6 separate regions of the Homo sapiens genome follow, and all the other regions are linked to region 1. The links are contacts of gene promoters, found by promoter capture Hi-C in blood cells and fetal thymus (Javierre and others, 2016). All regions are on one chromosome and are shown on one strand. Each heading gives the region's core, a stretch centred on a gene start or on the middle of the fragment in contact. The rest is flanking DNA. Distances are from core to core; before and after follow the strand shown. Region 1 holds the start of CD200R1 (CD200 receptor 1). Region 2 overlaps CCDC80 (coiled-coil domain containing 80). Region 3 overlaps CCDC80 (coiled-coil domain containing 80). Region 4 has its middle 24 kb from the start of CCDC80. Region 5 has its middle 47 kb from the start of MIR9900. Region 6 has its middle 29 kb from the start of MIR9900.

The links. Contacts are between HindIII fragments. The CHiCAGO score rates a contact against its expected background, and 5 or more counts as called.
Region 2: a fragment that was not itself captured here is called in contact with the fragment with the promoter of CD200R1 in region 1 in 3 of 17 cell types (M1 macrophages, erythroblasts and megakaryocytes); the score reaches 8.8 in M1 macrophages.
Region 3: a contact is called between a fragment that was not itself captured here and the fragment with the promoter of CD200R1 in region 1, in 2 of 17 cell types (M1 macrophages and megakaryocytes). The highest score is 7.1, in M1 macrophages.
Region 4: a contact is called between a fragment that was not itself captured here and the fragment with the promoter of CD200R1 in region 1, in 5 of 17 cell types (total CD8 T cells, erythroblasts, M1 macrophages and 2 more). The highest score is 5.9, in total CD8 T cells.
Region 5: a fragment that was not itself captured here is called in contact with the fragment with the promoter of CD200R1 in region 1 in 15 of 17 cell types (M1 macrophages, monocytes, M2 macrophages and 12 more); the score reaches 17.7 in M1 macrophages.
Region 6: a contact is called between a fragment that was not itself captured here and the fragment with the promoter of CD200R1 in region 1, in 3 of 17 cell types (M0 macrophages, monocytes and M2 macrophages). The highest score is 6.2, in M0 macrophages.

Annotation. Positions count from the first base shown.
Region 1 is chr3:112,973,738-112,976,493 of GRCh38, reverse strand. CD200R1 (CD200 receptor 1) reads left to right here and starts at 1,391. Exons shown (of 8, transcript NM_138806.4): 1 at 1,391-1,703. The coding sequence starts at 1,637. The HindIII fragment of the contact is 1,253 bases long and covers 180-1,432 here.
Region 2 is chr3:112,599,180-112,601,935 of GRCh38, reverse strand. It overlaps CCDC80 (coiled-coil domain containing 80), which reads left to right. Exons shown (of 8, transcript NM_199511.3): 8 at 1-2,756. Among named protein-coding and RNA genes, the nearest start is that of SLC35A5, 39 kb to the right of the region's middle. The HindIII fragment of the contact is 3,746 bases long and covers 1-2,756 here.
Region 3 is chr3:112,617,220-112,619,975 of GRCh38, reverse strand. It overlaps CCDC80 (coiled-coil domain containing 80), which reads left to right. Exons shown (of 8, transcript NM_199511.3): 4 at 872-1,008. Among named protein-coding and RNA genes, the nearest start is that of CCDC80, 23 kb to the left of the region's middle. The HindIII fragment of the contact is 9,423 bases long and covers 1-2,756 here.
Region 4 is chr3:112,663,573-112,666,328 of GRCh38, reverse strand. No RefSeq gene overlaps it. Among named protein-coding and RNA genes, the nearest start is that of CCDC80, 24 kb to the right of the region's middle. RefSeq lists an enhancer at 878-1,451. The HindIII fragment of the contact is 3,103 bases long and covers 1-2,756 here.
Region 5 is chr3:112,688,453-112,691,208 of GRCh38, reverse strand. No RefSeq gene overlaps it. Among named protein-coding and RNA genes, the nearest start is that of MIR9900, 47 kb to the left of the region's middle. The HindIII fragment of the contact is 1,605 bases long and covers 566-2,170 here.
Region 6 is chr3:112,706,410-112,709,165 of GRCh38, reverse strand. No RefSeq gene overlaps it. Among named protein-coding and RNA genes, the nearest start is that of MIR9900, 29 kb to the left of the region's middle. The HindIII fragment of the contact is 3,822 bases long and covers 1-2,756 here.

The sequences.
Region 1 (2,756 bases), core at 142-2,641:
CTGTATTTTAAATGATGTATTCTCACTAATTTTCCGACACCTGGTGAAACATTAGACAGAAGAGAAGACATTTTTGTTTTGGTCTTCCCATTGTCACAGCTCATACCCTTAAGTGTTCCATGCCCTCAAGGATCTGGTTTCACTGTCTTCATCAAATTAATTAACTGGAAAAAAAAGCTTGAGAAGGGGAAGGGGGGAAATATTTATAATGTTTGGCAAGAAGGAAGATGAAACTGCTAACTGAGAAAAAAAATGCATGCTGTTTAATCTTTTTCCTGTTTGCAATGTTTTCTTCCCCTTCCTGTACAGTTTTGCCTTGGGGCAGAAAATTCTCAGCACATAGAAGATTTTTCCCTCTCTCAGACATAACTTAAAAGCATAGTAACATAGTAACTAGCAACAGTAAGGAAGAGGTTTTTTTGTTGTTGTTGTTGTTTTTTTTTTTTGGTTAGGGGGAGTCTGAATTCCAGATGTGTGGCAACTAAGAGATGGGTGATTATTTGTAATTTGGTTAAAATGATCAGTCTAATTTTCCAAAGGTGAAACTGAATGGCAATAAGTACTGAGTTCTGATAAACAGAATGCCCTCACCCCCAACAAGGTAGATACCTATGTCCGAATTACCGAAACCTGTGAATGTTACCTTGTGTGGCAAAAAGGACTTTGCAGATGTGATTAAATTAAGATCTTGAAATTAGATCATGTTGGATTATTTGGGTGGACCAAAAATAATCACAAGGTCTTTATAAAAGGGAGGCATAAGGGTCACAGTCAGAGAAGATGTGACAGTGGACCAGAGGTCCGAATGATGTAGCTGCAAGCCAAGAAATGCAGGCATTCTCAAATCGCTGGAAAAGGCAGGGAGCAAATTCTGCCCGAGCCTCCAGATGGAGTGCAGCCCTTCCAACACCTTGATTTTAGTCCCCTAAGATCCATTTCAGACTTCTGATCACCAGAACTGTAAGATAATAAATGTTGTGTTGTGTTAAGCCACTGAGTTTGTGGTAATTTCTTACAGTAGCAATAGGAAACTAATACACATATGATGTTTACAGGGTTGTGTGTTGACTCCCATTATAGACAGGAATTTCACACAATAATTTTCAAGAAAACATATTGTATTCCAGACTCAAATACTAAGGCCGTAAAGCTCTTCAACCTGGAGAAAGCCTCTAAAAGTCATCATAATTGGGAAATTTACAAGGATGGGCCAAAGTAGATCAATATTCTGTTTTACTTTTTGGTGCAAGTTTAGACAAATCTGTTTATCTTGGACACGTTCAATGCCTTACTGTAAAGTTTGTCTGTGTACAGCAGAAGTGAGAGGAGAACCAATGAGCTGAGAGATAATTCAATCAATCTGCTTCCTCCGTCTTTGCTTCAGGGCTTCATACAGGAAATCTATTGCTGTGTCAAGTTCCAGAGAAAAGCTTCTGTTCGTCCAAGTTACTAACCAGGCTAAACCACATAGACGTGAAGGAAGGGGCTAGAAGGAAGGGAGTGCCCCACTGTTGATGGGGTAAGAGGATCCTGTACTGAGAAGTTGACCAGAGAGGGTCTCACCATGCGCACAGTTCCTTCTGTACCTGTGTGGAGGAAAAGTACTGAGTGAAGGGCAGAAAAAGAGAAAACAGAAATGCTCTGCCCTTGGAGAACTGCTAACCTAGGGCTACTGTTGATTTTGACTATCTTCTTAGTGGCCGGTAAGTTTGAATTCTCTTTGGGAGAACAGTGAGAAACCTGGTCTCAGCTCTTCCTGAGTTTATTTTTTGTCTTTCTTCTGGGGCAATACAAATCAATTGCAATAATAAATATAGGGGGTTGCTAAATATGGGTTACTCCCATATCTAGTTTACTTTATTATCCTTTTTTCCGGTGTCTTGCTTGTTGTACTTTGTATCCTACTACAATATACAGATCTCTATAATTTGTCTTACTGTCCATTTCCTTATTTCCTCCTGTTTTTTGAACAAGGCAGGATAAATCAAATACATACTAGCAGCAATCAAAGTCAGTTAGGTTCTCTTTATCTTATTCTCTTCCCCAACCCCCTTTTTTGAGACAGGGTCTTGCTCTGTTGCCCAGGCTGGAGTGCAGTGGTGCAATCGTAGCTCACTGCAGCCTGTAACTCCAGGTCTCAAGCAGTCCTCCCACTCAGCCTCCTGAGTGTCTAGGACTACAGATATGCGCCACTATGCTTGGCTAATTTTTAAAATTTTTGGTAGAGATAGAGTCTTGCTATATTGTCCATGCTGGTCTTGAGCTCCTGTCTTCAAGCAATTCTCCCACCTCAGACTCCCAAAGCATTGGGATTACAGGCATGAGCCACTGCACCCAGCCTCTTCTCTCTTAATTTTTTTTTTTAAGATAAGAACGCTAACTCATTTAGGTCCACATTGCCAGTGGCATAGATTAGGACAGTTTATTGCTTTCTGTCACTTTCGATGATTAGGCACTTCAAAAATATAATATGCCTACAGTTACAGTGGTGCGTCTGTGATGTATGTCTGTATTTATCTTCAAGATGTGTGGGCTGTAAGAGACACTACGAGTTAGAGAACAGACTCTTCAACATCTAGGTTCCTATAGAAGTTATAGAGAACTTGGGCCACTGTGGGGGTGTCCTGGTTTCACTGTAGAAGGTTGGTAGGAGTTGGTGTGGGAGGGAGTTTTCAGGTTTCACTTTTGGTAGACAGAGCAGCTGCAAGGGAAGAGTGTAGTTGGTTTTAAATGTTATAATTTGATAATTGAAAGAA
Region 2 (2,756 bases), core at 141-2,640, 370 kb after region 1:
GGACCTATTACCATACTGGCATCTTATAAAAAAAATTACAAGGAAGGAGATTATATCCAGGGATTCTTTTTGTTTTCAAGGCAAAGGTTACCAAGTTACAATGGACCAAAGTAGCTGGAATGCAAAGGAGTATAATCCTTGTCTTTGAAAAAAGAGCATTTGTTTCAATCATATGGCATATCAAAGTAAACTTTCTCCCTTCCTCCCTCCTTTCGTTGCTGCTGCTTCTTTTTTTTCTCTTTTTTTTTTTCTTTTTTTGGAGAGGGTCTCACTCTGTCACCCAGGCTGCAGTGCAGTAGTGCAATCTTGGCTCACTGCAAACTCAGCTTCCCTCAAACAATCCTCCCACCTCAGCATCCCAAGTTAGCTGGGACCACAGCCATGCTCCACCATGCCCAGCCATCCTTGCTTCTTTACTACATTTCTTTTTTCAACAAATATTTATCAAGTAATATTGTCAAGTAATATTTATGAGCTTCCCCTCAGATAGGCATTTAGCATCATGATGGCACCATCCTCTAACAATAATGGGAAGGCTATTTTCCACTGTTATTAATCATTAATTCTCCAAATCATTTTAGTATTATTATTAATTCTAATAAGTACAGAGATTAATAAATGCATTCAAACCACATGTGAATATTTGCTATAGGTTTATCTGTGCCTACTGTATGTTCAGATTTTTCTTTATATCTGAACTTTGTTATAAATAAATGACAGTAAAAATGGAATTTATAGTTCAATGAACTTGACAAATCACTTATTCTGCCATTCATTTTCCATAAAGACCATTCATTCTTCCTTGTTTTACAGGTAACTGAGCTCCAGAAAGCTCAAGTGACTTTAGAACTCAGTTCTTAGTGTGTGAATTATGCTCCCATCTCATCCCTCTTCCTTGATGGAGCACTTTCCTCCTCATTTTTTCTTGGATAGTCTGTACAAGCTGCCTGAGGTGTGCAGGAAAGTGAGCCACGTCGAAGTGTACTGCTTTTAAATTTTTGCCAGGATGAAGCATAGCCCAAAGTTGCCAATAAAAATGGATTTCTTTACCTTTCTGAAATTGTGTGATGACAATTTCTAAGTAAAGGACCCAAATCATGTCAACTTCAGGAAATATAATAATGAGGGAGCCAGGAGCAGTGAGGGGCTCACACCTGTAATCCCAGCACTTTGGGAGGCCAAGGTGAGCGGGTCGCTTGAGCCCAGGACTTCGAGACCAGCCTGGGCAACACGGCAAAACCCTGTCTCTACAAAAAAATACAAAAAATTAGCTGGGTAAGGTGGTGTGTGTCTGTGGTCCCAGCTATTCAGGAGGCTGAAGTGAGAGAATCGCTTGAGCCTAGGAGGTCGAGGCTTCAGTGTGCCGTGATCGTGCCACAGCACTCCATCATCATCATCCTGGGTGACAAAGTGAGACCCTGTCTCCCCACCAAAAAAAAGAGGGAGTTTCATCTCCCAAGAAAATGAATTAGATAGGAATAATAGAAAATTTACTCTCAGAATAATAGGGTTCTAGCTCCTGCAACCAAAAAAAGATAGTTCTTTTTTACAACCTGAGATTACTTTTTCAAGCATTTCTCCAGTTCCACTGGCATTGAAATAATAGTTAGCAATGCATCTGAGCTTTTCTTCCTCTAATGAGCAGGCAGAGAAGTCATAGATCATCATTTGGAGGACTATAAAATAAGACATAGCTTAGCAAAAGGACCAAAATACATTCAGAGGAGGATGCTATTGGTGAATGTCCTCAAAGCCTATAATCTGGAAAAATACAAGGCATATCTCTGAAACTGTGAGGATTAGCAAACTAGCTAACCTGAATCTCTGTCTTCTGGTAGTATAAACTAGGTAGTTTCAAATCTGAGTAGTTTCTCCATAAAAGCATTTCTTCCCAAACGTTTCTTACCAAACTCCCAAATAAATGAGAAAAATAAAATACAGTTTTATAATTTTTGAGAAAGATTATGGGATTATGGTATTTAAAAAGAAAAGCATTCTGTAGAGTTGGGGAAATCTGGAAGACTCTTGAGGACATAGCTTTGCCGAAATTGCTGGTTGTCACAAGACTCTTCAAAAACTACTTTTCATCAGACATCTCCCAGGGCTCTGAGGTGAATATTAATTCAGCAGAAAGATCCTTTTCTGCTACATAGGCAGGAGGTCCAGACACAGGGGAGTGGGTGCAACCCAGCTGGTCCCATTTTCTGTAATATAATTAACAATGAAGCTCATACTTTCTCAACTTCTAGAAGCCTGGAGGATGGAAGCAGCCCGAGAGTAGGGTGAATGATGGCCTCAGTGGGCCCTTCTTAATGTGTCTCAGTACTGAATGTGTGGAGATTGTAGAAAAATAGAAGGCCCTTGGAAAAAACCTCTGTTCGTTTCTCTGTTCGTTTCGCTCCCTGATCTCCCTGCCGGATTGCTTTTCTTTCCTTTCTCTTCCTTGGCTGTCCTTTACCTCATGGTGTGGGGTGTGCAGATAGCAGGTTGTGGCTTGGTGAGTGCTCTTCACTTCAGGTCAAGGTGAGGCACAGTTAACATGCTAACTACTTTCCTCAGTTCTCTCTGAGTTGTGTAAAGCTCCCGATGCCAGACTTCCTCTTAATTTTGCACATTATTAAAGTCCAAAGAGTTAAGATTTGGTGATGAGGGGCAAAGGGCCAGCTGTCACAGAAATCAATGAAATGATACACAGAAATGGGTATCATGAAAAGGCCACTGGACTTGGGAAAACTGGGTGCCTGTCCTTGCCCTGC
Region 3 (2,756 bases), core at 96-2,595, 360 kb after region 1:
AGGGGATTATTTTGCAGATAAAATCTTAGGTAGGGTTGAGAGATATACTGTGACTTGTTTTAGCGGGAAGAAGTAAATAAAGCTCTTCTGTCCTTGAAAATGTTAAAATGCTTTCCTGACATACAAGTTGCCATGTAAAGCCACTAGTATCTTGATTTTCATGCTTCCCATTAATCCAGTGACACCTTCTGGAACCATTCTGAATTATAAGGATTTATTTGGGGAGGCTGATGATTGAAAAAACATATAGTGATTTAAAATTTCCATAAATTGTCACATTTTGTTTTAAACTGTGTTCACTTACAAAATTTGCATTATGAATAGCTTGACTTCTTTTGGAGCCCAAATGAAACTGTGACTAGGTTTCAACAGAAACTCTATTTTTCTCTATAGATATGACATGCTTACTGGGTCCCAAAGTTAATTCTATACCAAAAAAGAGGAACAGACACAGGTTTTAGACTCAGAATTATGTTTAATGGAAACAGAACTTAACAAATTGTCTGGGTCGGTCCAGTTCCCCGGTGAGTTAGGGTGAAGACTCACTCCCTGGGTGAGTTGCAGTCTTCTCCTAGGTATGACTCAGCAGTCTCCACTCTCACTTTGTTCCTTTGTTCCTGTTTGCTGTGAACAGGATGGACAGAGATGGAGCCTTGATCATCTATAGAAGAGTAGCTTTCAAAACTTTATTCATGTGTTTATTTCTATATTTATTAATTTACTCCGAAAACTTTTGTTCAAACACAACGTGAGTTGAATATATAAAACTAATGAAGGCTGGTGTGATTAGGCCCAAAGCCTTCACCCATTCACCTCCCAATGATTTCTGCCTTGCCACACCCATATTCATTCACATTTTATTTCCCTTAAGATAATGAGAAGCCCATGCGAGTGGTGGATGATGAAGACTTGGTAGACCAGCGTCTCATCAGCGAGCTGAGGAAAGAGTACGGAATGACCTACAATGACTTCTTCATGGTGCTAACAGATGTGGATCTGAGAGTCAAGGTACAGTTTCTTATTCTGAATAATGTAGTACTATTTCTTAGAATAGCAAATCTGAATTGTTTTGTTAAACAGTCCATTCAATGTACGAGTAAGCATAAATTATTTTATAAATGGGAAAGTTTTGAGATGGGCCAAATTTTCCATGTTGTCCTACGAATTTGCATCCAGAAATGTGGTCTCTGACAAAGACTGAGTTGGAGTGACTTCCCACAGCCCAGCTACTTGACTCAGACTAAATTCTTTTCTAACAACAATGTTTTACATTCATAAGACACTAGTTAAATAGCTATGATGTGCGAGGTCCTGGAGATAAAAGGTGAAGAGTGGTCTCTGCCTTCAAGAAACCCATATTTAACATAGGCCTATCTCAGAGGGGTCTAGAAGTGTGCCTCCTGATCCAATGTGGACAAGAGTTTGGGGTTGTTTTTTTTTTATTATTTTGAGACGGAGTCTCACCCTGTTGCCCAGGCTGGAGTGCAGTGGCGTGATCTCGGCTCACTGCAAGCTCCACCCCCCAGGTTCACGCCATTCTCCTGCCTCATCCTCCCGAGTAGCTGGGACTACAGTAAGCACCCGCCACCACACCCGGCTAATTTTATTTTTGTATTTTTAGTAGAGATGGGGTTTCACTGTGTTAGCAAGGATGGTCTCGATCTCCTGACCTCGTGATCTGCCTGCCTCGGCCTCCCAAAGTGCTGGGATTACAGGCGTGAGCCACCACGCCCTGCCAAAAGTTTGGGGTTTTACACCTAGTTTCTTTCTATGCTTGCGGACAAAAGTTCTGAACCATGAAAAACTATACCATGTAATAATAACAATAACAAAAATAGTCACTTTATCAAGTGCTTTCCTTATGCCTGGCACTTTCTTCAACCCTTTGCAATCCTTAGTCTCACACGTCTAAGATAAATGCTAACATTATTTTTGTTTCACAGAGGAAAAAACAGAGGCCCAGAATGGTTAAGTAACTAGCCCAAGGTCATCATGCAATTAGTGTTGAACTTCATTCCCACAGAGGCTGGCTCCCGAACCCACTGTCTTAACAATTTTGGCATACTGGCACTATATCACTGAAAATACATTTTACTAAAGTTTATCTTAATACTTCTTTAAAGCATTCCCTAAACAATTTTTAAAACAACTTATCAAAATGTTCTTTTAAAATTCCAGGCTTCTGAAACCATGTGAAATGGGGAACACAAAAAATGTTCATGAAAAAGTCATTCATATACCATGCTTGTGTGAGAATCTTCACGGGAAAAAAAGGCTGTCTATGCTATCAGAATAGCTGACCCAACATGCAACATATTTCTGGATCTGGAGAAATGGCATCATTAGTTAATTCTGCACACATGTTGTCTCATCTCTAATGAGAGAGGTTGGGCCAGATAATCTCTAAGGTCCTTACCAGCTCTCACATTCTGTGATTTACTGAATTCCCACAGAGGGCAGAGCTTCGAGCCATGTCCAGACTGCTCTCCAGTTTATGCTGATTACGCTCAGCCAGCCCCTAAATCCATCTCAGGTTGCTTTTGTAAGTCCAGGCAGCTGTGATTCAGGAATCTGAATTTCATTGTCTTTAAGTTGGATCCCAACTTATTTCTGAGAATAGGTGAACAAAAATGACTTAATATTAAGTGATGTTTACTCAGTAAAACAATCCCTGGGACCACAGAACAGGCCTTGGTGGAAAACTACTCTTATTGCTCAGGTTACACACTTGAACATGTTATTCCATTTAGTTTCCT
Region 4 (2,756 bases), core at 123-2,622, 310 kb after region 1:
TCTTTTGTATGCTTGTGTTAACCAAACACAAAATTTCAAGCACAATAATTTGGCCACCAACGACATTGTGAAAACACTATAAAAGAAGACACAGAAAAATACAAAGCAAAGTTTTCCCTTTTGACTTTAGGTATGAAGAATGTTGTTAAATCAGAAGAAATGTATCTTTCCCCAAATTTCATATTAAAGAGAAGGCAGAAGATTTGGACATTCAATGATAAATTAAATTTTTATTGGAATTTTAAAATAAGTCATGCTTAGGAATAAAAGCAGGAATGTTTTTACTTTTAAAATAGAGGTGATAGAGCAGAACTGAATAAAATTGAGACCCAAAAATTCATACAAAGAATCATTGAAACAAAAAGTTGGTTATTTGAAAGGACAAATAAGGTAAATAGACTTTTAGCAAGACTACTAATGAACAAAAGAGAGTAGATTTAAATCAGCACAATAAGAAATGACAAAAGTGATGTTACCACTGACCATACGGAAATACAAAAGATCCTCAGAGGCCACTATGAACATCTATTCACACAAACTAGAAAATCTAGAGGAAACTGATAAATTCCTGGAAACACACAATCTCCCAAGATTGAATCAGGAAGAAATTGGAACCCTGAACGACCAACATCAAGTTCCAAAATTGAATCAGTAATTTAAAAAAACCTATCAGCCACAGCAAGCTCAAAACCAGATGGATTCCCAACTAAATTCTACCAGTTATACAAAGAACTGTTACCAATTCTGAAACTACTCCAAAAATTTGAGGAGGCACTCCTCTCTAACTCATTCTATGAAAGCAATATCTCCTGATATCAAAACCTGGCAAAGATACAACAAAAAAAGAAAACTACGGGCACATATCCCTTATAAACGTAGATGCAAAAATCCTCAACAAAATACTAGCAAACCAAATCCAACAGGATATAAAAAAGTTAATTCACCGTGACCATACTTGGCTTCATTCCTTGGATGCAAGGTTGATTCGACATACATAAATCAATAAACATGATACACCACATAAACAGAACTACAGACAAAAACATATGATCTCTCAATAGACATGGAAAAACCTTTTGATAAAATCCAACATCCCTTCATGATAAAAACCCTCAACAAACTAGGCATTGAAGGAACATACCTCAAAATAAGAGCTATCTGGCAGGGAGGAGCCAAGATGGCCGAACAGGAACAGCTCCGGTCTACAGCTCCCAGCGTGAGCGAAGCAGAAGACAGGTGATTTCTGCATTTCCATCTGAGGTACCGGGTTCATCTCACTAGGGAGTGCCAGACAGTGGGCGCAGGTCAGTGGGTGCACGTATCGTGCACGAGCCGAAGCAGGGCGAGGCATTGCCTCACTTGGGAAGTGCAAGGGGTCAGGGAGTTCCCTTTCCGAGTCAAAGAAAGCGGTGACTGACAGCACCTGGAAAATCGGGTCACTCCCACCAGAATACTGCGCTTTTCCGACGGGCTTAAAAAACGGCGCACCACGAGATTATATCCCACACCTGGCTCGGAGGGTCCTACGCCCACGGAGTCTCGCTGATTGCTAGCACAGCAGTCTGAGATCAAACTGCAAGGCGGCAGCGAGGCTGGGGGAGGGGCGCCCACCATTGCCCAGGCTTGATTAGGTAAACAAAGCAGCTGGGAAGCTCGAACTGGGTGGAGCCCACCACAGCTCAAGGAGGCCTGCCTGCCTCTGTAGGCTCCACCTCTGGGGGCAGGGCACAGACAAACAAAAAGACAGCAGTAACCTCTGCAGACTTAAATGTCCCTGTCTGACAGCTTTGAAGAGAGCAGTGGTTCTCCCAGCACGCACCTGGAGATCTGAGAACGGGCAGACTGCCTCCTCAAGTGGGTCCCTGACCCCTAACCCCCAAGCAGCCTAACTGGGAGGCACCCCCCAGCAGGGGCACACCGACACCTCACACGGCAGGGTATTCCAACAGACCTGCAGCTGAGGGTCCTGTCTGTTAGAAGGAAAACTAACAAACAGAAAGGACATCCACACCAAAAACCCATCTGTACATCACCATCATCAAAGACCAAAAGTAGATAAAACCACAAAGATGGGGAAAAAACAGAACAGAAAAACTGGAAACTCTAAAAAGCAGAGCGCCTCTCCTCCTCCAAAGGAACGCAGTTCCTCACCAGCAATGGAACAAAGCTGGATGGAGAATGACTTTGACCAGTTGAGAGAAGAAGGCTTCAGACGATCAAATTACTCTGAGCTACGGGAGGACATTCAAACCAAAGGCAAAGAAGTTGAAAACTTTGAAAAAAATTTAGACGAATGTATAACTAGAATAACCAATACAGAGAAGTGCTTAAAGGAGCTGATGGAGCTGAAAACCAAGGCTTGAGAACTACGTGAAGAATGCAGAAGCCTCAGGAGCTGACGCGATCAACTGGAAGAAAGGGTATCAGCAATGGAAGATGAAATGAATGAAATGAAGCGAGAAGGCAAGTTTAGAGAAAAAAGAATAAAAAGAAATGAGCAAAGCCTCCAAGAAATATGGGACTATGTAAAAAGACCAAATCTACGTCTGATTGGTGTACCTGAAAGTGATGGGGAGAATGGAACCAAGTTGGAAAACACTCTGCAGGATATTATCCAGGAGAACTTCCCCAATCTAGCAAGGCAGGCCAACGTTCAGATTCAGGAAATACAGAGAACGCCACAAAGATACTCCTCGAGAAGTGCAACTCCAAGACACATAATTGTCAGATTCACCAAAGTTGAAATGAAGGAAAAA
Region 5 (2,756 bases), core at 119-2,618, 290 kb after region 1:
CCCAAAGGAATATAAATTATTCTTTTATAAAGACACATGCACACATATGTTCATTTTGGCACTATTCCCAATAGCAAAGACATGGAATAAACCCAAATGCCCATTAATGATAGACTGAATGAAGAAAATGTGGTACATATACACTGTAGAATACTATGCAGCTATAAAAAAGAATGTGACCATGTCCTTTGCAGGGGCATGGATGAAGCTGAAGGTCATTATCCTTAGCAAACGAACACAAGATCAGAAAACCAAATATAGCATGTTCTCACTTACAAGTGGGAGCTAAATTATGAGAACACATGGACACAAAGAGGGGAACAACAGACTCTGGGGCCTACCAGAGGATGGGAGGATGGAGAGGAGCAGAAATAATACCTATTGGTTATTAGGCTTAGTACCTGGGTGACAAAATAATCTGTACATCAAACCCCCGTGACACGAGTTTATCTATATAACACGCCTGCACTTGTATTCCTGAATCTAAAATAAAAGAGTTTTTTATTTGTTTGTTTGTTTGTTTTAAAAAAAAGAAGAGGTAGCCAGACATAGAACACCAAAAGCTTACCCAGTAGCAGTGAGACTCATGGGAAGAGGATGGCTTATAGTCATACACACCTAGGTCTAAAGTGTGGTGTGGCCAAATAATTCCACTTCTGAGCCTCAGTTTCTTCCTCTGCACATGAGGGATCATGGCGACTAACCCATGCAGAGTTTCAATGTAAGGGATCATGCAGTTTCCGGTCTATGGTCAATATTCCAGCAATGGTAGTTATTCTAGTGGTTAAAAGGCCATTCCTTGCTAATTTACCTCTGAAATTGGAGCCATGGTTCGCAGTGCTCCTGCTTTGAATTCTGGCTTTAGTTTTGACTTTTTATGCTATTTGTTCCTGGCATCAGCACCTAGTCTATATTTTGTGTCTAACTTAGTCACTTGCCTCTCCTGTGCAACCTGCACTGGGGCCTTTGTGTCCTGGGATTTTCCTGTGCCCCTGTGACCTCTGGATTCAGCTTGCCCTGCATTCCTAGCTTTGGTGCCTGCTCCACTGGGCCTGTGTCTGGCAAGGCCGCTACTGAGCTGGGACAATTAGAATTTTTAAAAAGTAGGAAAGGAAAGTATGAATAATGTTTATTAAAAGAGCTGAAGAAAGAATAGCTACAGAAGTAGAAAGCCACAAAATGAAAGCAGGAAAATCACTAATGCAGTAACAACAAAGGCTGAGCAATAGGGTGTAAAAATAAGCCAAGGGTCTTTTGATGTCTTTGTTGCTGTCTACTCTCAGCGCTGATGTAGTAGTAAAATTGCTGTAGGTCAGAGAGCTTGAACCAAATGGGGAATCAACATCGAAGGAGTCTTGAAGTATGGTGAGTTGCTGCAGACAAAGAGTAAACTGCTTGCCTACTGTGGGCAGGAGCCCACAAAACTTAGGAGATATGTGCTTGCAAAGCAAATGCTGGCTTTTTGTGGATTTAAAAACTGCCAGGGACAAATTCTCCCCTCCTTTTCTACTAAGCCTCCTGCCAATACCAACAAGCAATTTTAGCTGAAAACAAAACAAAAAACCACACCTACTTCAGGTTGGCCTTGCAATCTCCAACCACTGTCTGCAAGACTGAAAACATAATTCCATATGATACTTTCTCTTCCTCAATAAGGTGGTGAGCTGGTGAGCTAGGGGCTTTAAAACCGAAGGCTAGAAATGTTCCCCTTGATGAACATTCCTGGTAAGAAGAGGTTAGAACACAGCACATCAAAAAGGTTGACTAGAGTGAGGGAAACTCTAGACCTAAGACTAACAGCTGATAAGTTTGTGATTAACAATCTTTCTGCATTCAGCAGTCTGAGTGCACACCATTTATTTTATTTGAAACAAAAACTGAATCTAATTTTACAGAAATGAGGGGACAGCACTCTGGTTTTACTGATGCTTATAAAAGCAGATTGTTGCCTCAAGTTTAAAAATGTAAAGAAGCAGAGCTTCCCAGCCTTCTCCATTCCCATCAAACTTGCAAACAGGAGGAAATCCTGGAAGGAGAGGGAGAAAGGAATCAGGGAGAAAAGGGTGGAGCACAATAAATACATATGTGTCTGGTTATTGAGCATGGTCTTTTACATCCTACCTGGAATGAGTCACACACAGACAGTTCCTGGCAAAACTTGAAAGAAGCTTTTATATTTCAACTTTGATGGATTCAGCTTGCTGCAATTCCCAGCATAGCCAGTCCTTGGAAAAAAAAGCACACAGAATCCGCATGCCCTGGACCTGCCCTTTTATTCAGTCTCTCCCCCTTCCTGGTTCCTAGTTGTGACCTTCCCAGATGTCTGGTTCCTCTAGGCTGCCGTCTTCCCACTGGGCTCTTGCTTTTTTTTAGTTTTGACCAGTCCTGTTAGCATAGCCAACTTCACCTACTCATGATACTCTTTCCTCTGACTCTATCAAAGTTCCTTTGTGATAGAGGAAGCAAGGGATGAAGGTTATGGACTGGTGGGCAAATGAAACAGGGAAAAAACTTGTAACTTTATTCACTTAACAAATATTTATTGAGTATTCATCCTGTGCTAGCTGCTAGGACTTCAGTGGTCAATGAGGTAGTCATCAGCTGAGCTTTGAAGAACCTGCTCTTGTATGTGCTTGAGTTCTACTTAATACTACATACAAGTAACATCTACTGAGCCCTTACTATATGCCAGGCACTGTGCAAAAACCTTCATCTTACCAAATCCCCACCGCAGCCTTGTAAAGAGGTAAATTTAT
Region 6 (2,756 bases), core at 83-2,582, 270 kb after region 1:
ACTCAGATTCATAAAACAAGTTCTTAGAGACCTACAAAGAGACTTAAACTTTCAAACAATAGTAGCAGGAGACTTTACAACCCCACTGGTGGTATTAGATCATTGAGGCTGAAAATTAACAAAGGTATTCAGGACCTGAACTCAACACTGGACCAAATGGATCTGATATACCTCTGCAGAACACGCCACCCCAAAACAACAGATTATATATTCTTCTCATCTGCACCTGGTACGTACTCAAAAATTGGCCACACAATTGGACATAAAACAATCCTTAGAAAATACAAAGGAACTAAAATCATACTAACCACTCTCTCAGACCACAGTGCAAAAAAATAGAATTCAAGTCTAAGAAAATTGCTGAAAACCATATGATTACATGGAAATTAAACAACCTGCTCCAGAATGACTTTTGGGTAAATACTAAAATTAAGACAGAAATAAATAAGTTCTTTAAAACTAATGAAAACAAAGCTACAACATACCCAGAATCTCTGGGACACAGCTAAGACAGCGTTAAGAGGGAAATTTATAGTGCTAAATGCCTACATCATAAAGTTAGAAAGATCTCAAATTAACAACCTAACATCACAACAAAAAGAACTAGAGAGGCAAGAGCAAACCAACCACAAAGCTAACAGAAGCCAAGAAATAACCAAAATCAGAACTGAACTGAAGACAGCTTTTGAGATACAAAAAAACCATCTAAAAGATCAATGAAGCCAGGAGTGGGGTTTTGAAAAAAAAAATAAGATAGATAGACTGCTAGCTAGACTAATAAAGAAGAAAAGAGAGAAGATGCAAGTAAACACAGTCGGAAACAACAAAAGGGATATTACCACTGACCCCACAGAAATACAAATCACCATTAGAGGCTAATATGAACAACTCTATGCACACAAGCTAGAGAATATAGAAGAAATGGATACATTCTTGAACACATAACCCCTCTCAGGACTGAATCAAAAAGAAATTGAATCCCTGAACAGACCAATAACGAGATCTGAAATTGAATCAGTAATAAATAGCCTACCAGCCAAAAAAGTCCTGGACCAGACAGATTCACAGCTGAATTCCATCAGATGTACAAAGAAGAACTGGTACCATTCCTCTTAAAACTATTTCAGAAAGTTGAGGAGGAGGGACTCCTCTCCAACTGATTCTATGAGGTCAATATTATCCTGATACCAAACATGGCAGAGACACAACAAACAAAGAAAACTTCAGGCCAATATCCTTGATTAATACAGATGCAAAAGTCTATGTTAAGTTAACAAAATACTGACAAACTGAATCCAGCAGTACATCAAAAAGTTAATCCACCATGAAAGCAGGCTTTATTACTGGGATGCAAAGTTGGTTCAACATATCCAAATCAATAAACATGATTCATCAGATAAACAGAACTAAAGACAAAAACCATATGATCATCTCAATAAATGCAGAAAAGGCTTCCATTAAATTCAACATCCCTTTATGTTAAAGGCTCTTAACAAACAAAGAATTGAGGGAAGATACCTCAAAATAATAAGAGCCATCTATGACAAACCCCATAGCCAACGTCATACTAAGTAGGCAAAAGCTGGAAGCATTTCTCTTGAAAACCGGCACAAGACAAGGGTGCCCTATCTCACCACTCTTATTCAACATAGTATTGGAGGTCCTGGCCAGAGCAATCAGGCAAGAGATAAAAGGCATCCAAATAGGAGAAGAGGAAGTCAAACGATTCCTGTTTGCACATGACATAATTCTATATCTAGAAAACCCCATATTCTCAGCCCCAAATCTCCTTAAGCTGATAAACAACATCAGCAAGATTTCAGGATACAAAATCAATGTACAAAAATTGCCAGCATTCCTACATATCAACAACATCCAAGGAAGACTGTTGTCAGTGTATAGGAATGCTAGCAATTTTTGTACATTTTGTACATTGCTTCCAACACCAACATAGGAAACATCACAGTACCCAACTTCAAACTATACTACAGAGCTACAGTAACCAAAATAGCATGGTACTGGTACAAAAACAGAAACATAGGTCAACAGAACAGAATAAAGACTGCTGAAACAATGTTGCACATCTACAACCATCTGATCTTTAAAACAACTGACAAAAACGAGCAATAGGAAAAGGATTCCATATTCAATAAATGGTACTGAGATAACTGGTTAGTCACATGTGGAAGTCTGAAAGTGGACCCCTTCTTTATACCATACACAAAAATTAACTCAAGATAGACTAAAGACTTAAATGTAAAACCCAAAACTGTAAAAAAAAATTTGAAGACAACCTAGGCAATACCATTCGGGACATAGGAACTGGCAAAGACTTCATGACAAAGATGCCAAAAGCAATTGCAACAAAAGCAAAAATTGATAAATGGGATCTAATTAAAGAGCTTCTGCACAGCAAACAAAACCATCAAGAGAATAAATAGACAACTTACAAAATAAAAGAAAACATTTGCAAACCATGCATCTGACAAAGGTCTAATATCCAGCATCTATAAGGAACTTAAAGAAATTTACAAGTAAAAAAATGACCCCATTAAAAAGTGGACAAAGGACATGAACAGACACTTTTCAAAAGAAGCATATGAAAAAAGCTCAATATTACTGATTATTAGAGAAATGCAAATCAAAAACAAAATGGGATACCATCTCATACTAGTCAGAATGGCTATTATTAAAAAGTCAAAAATAACATGCTGGCAAGGTTGCAGAGAAAAGGGAATGCTTATACACTGTTGTTG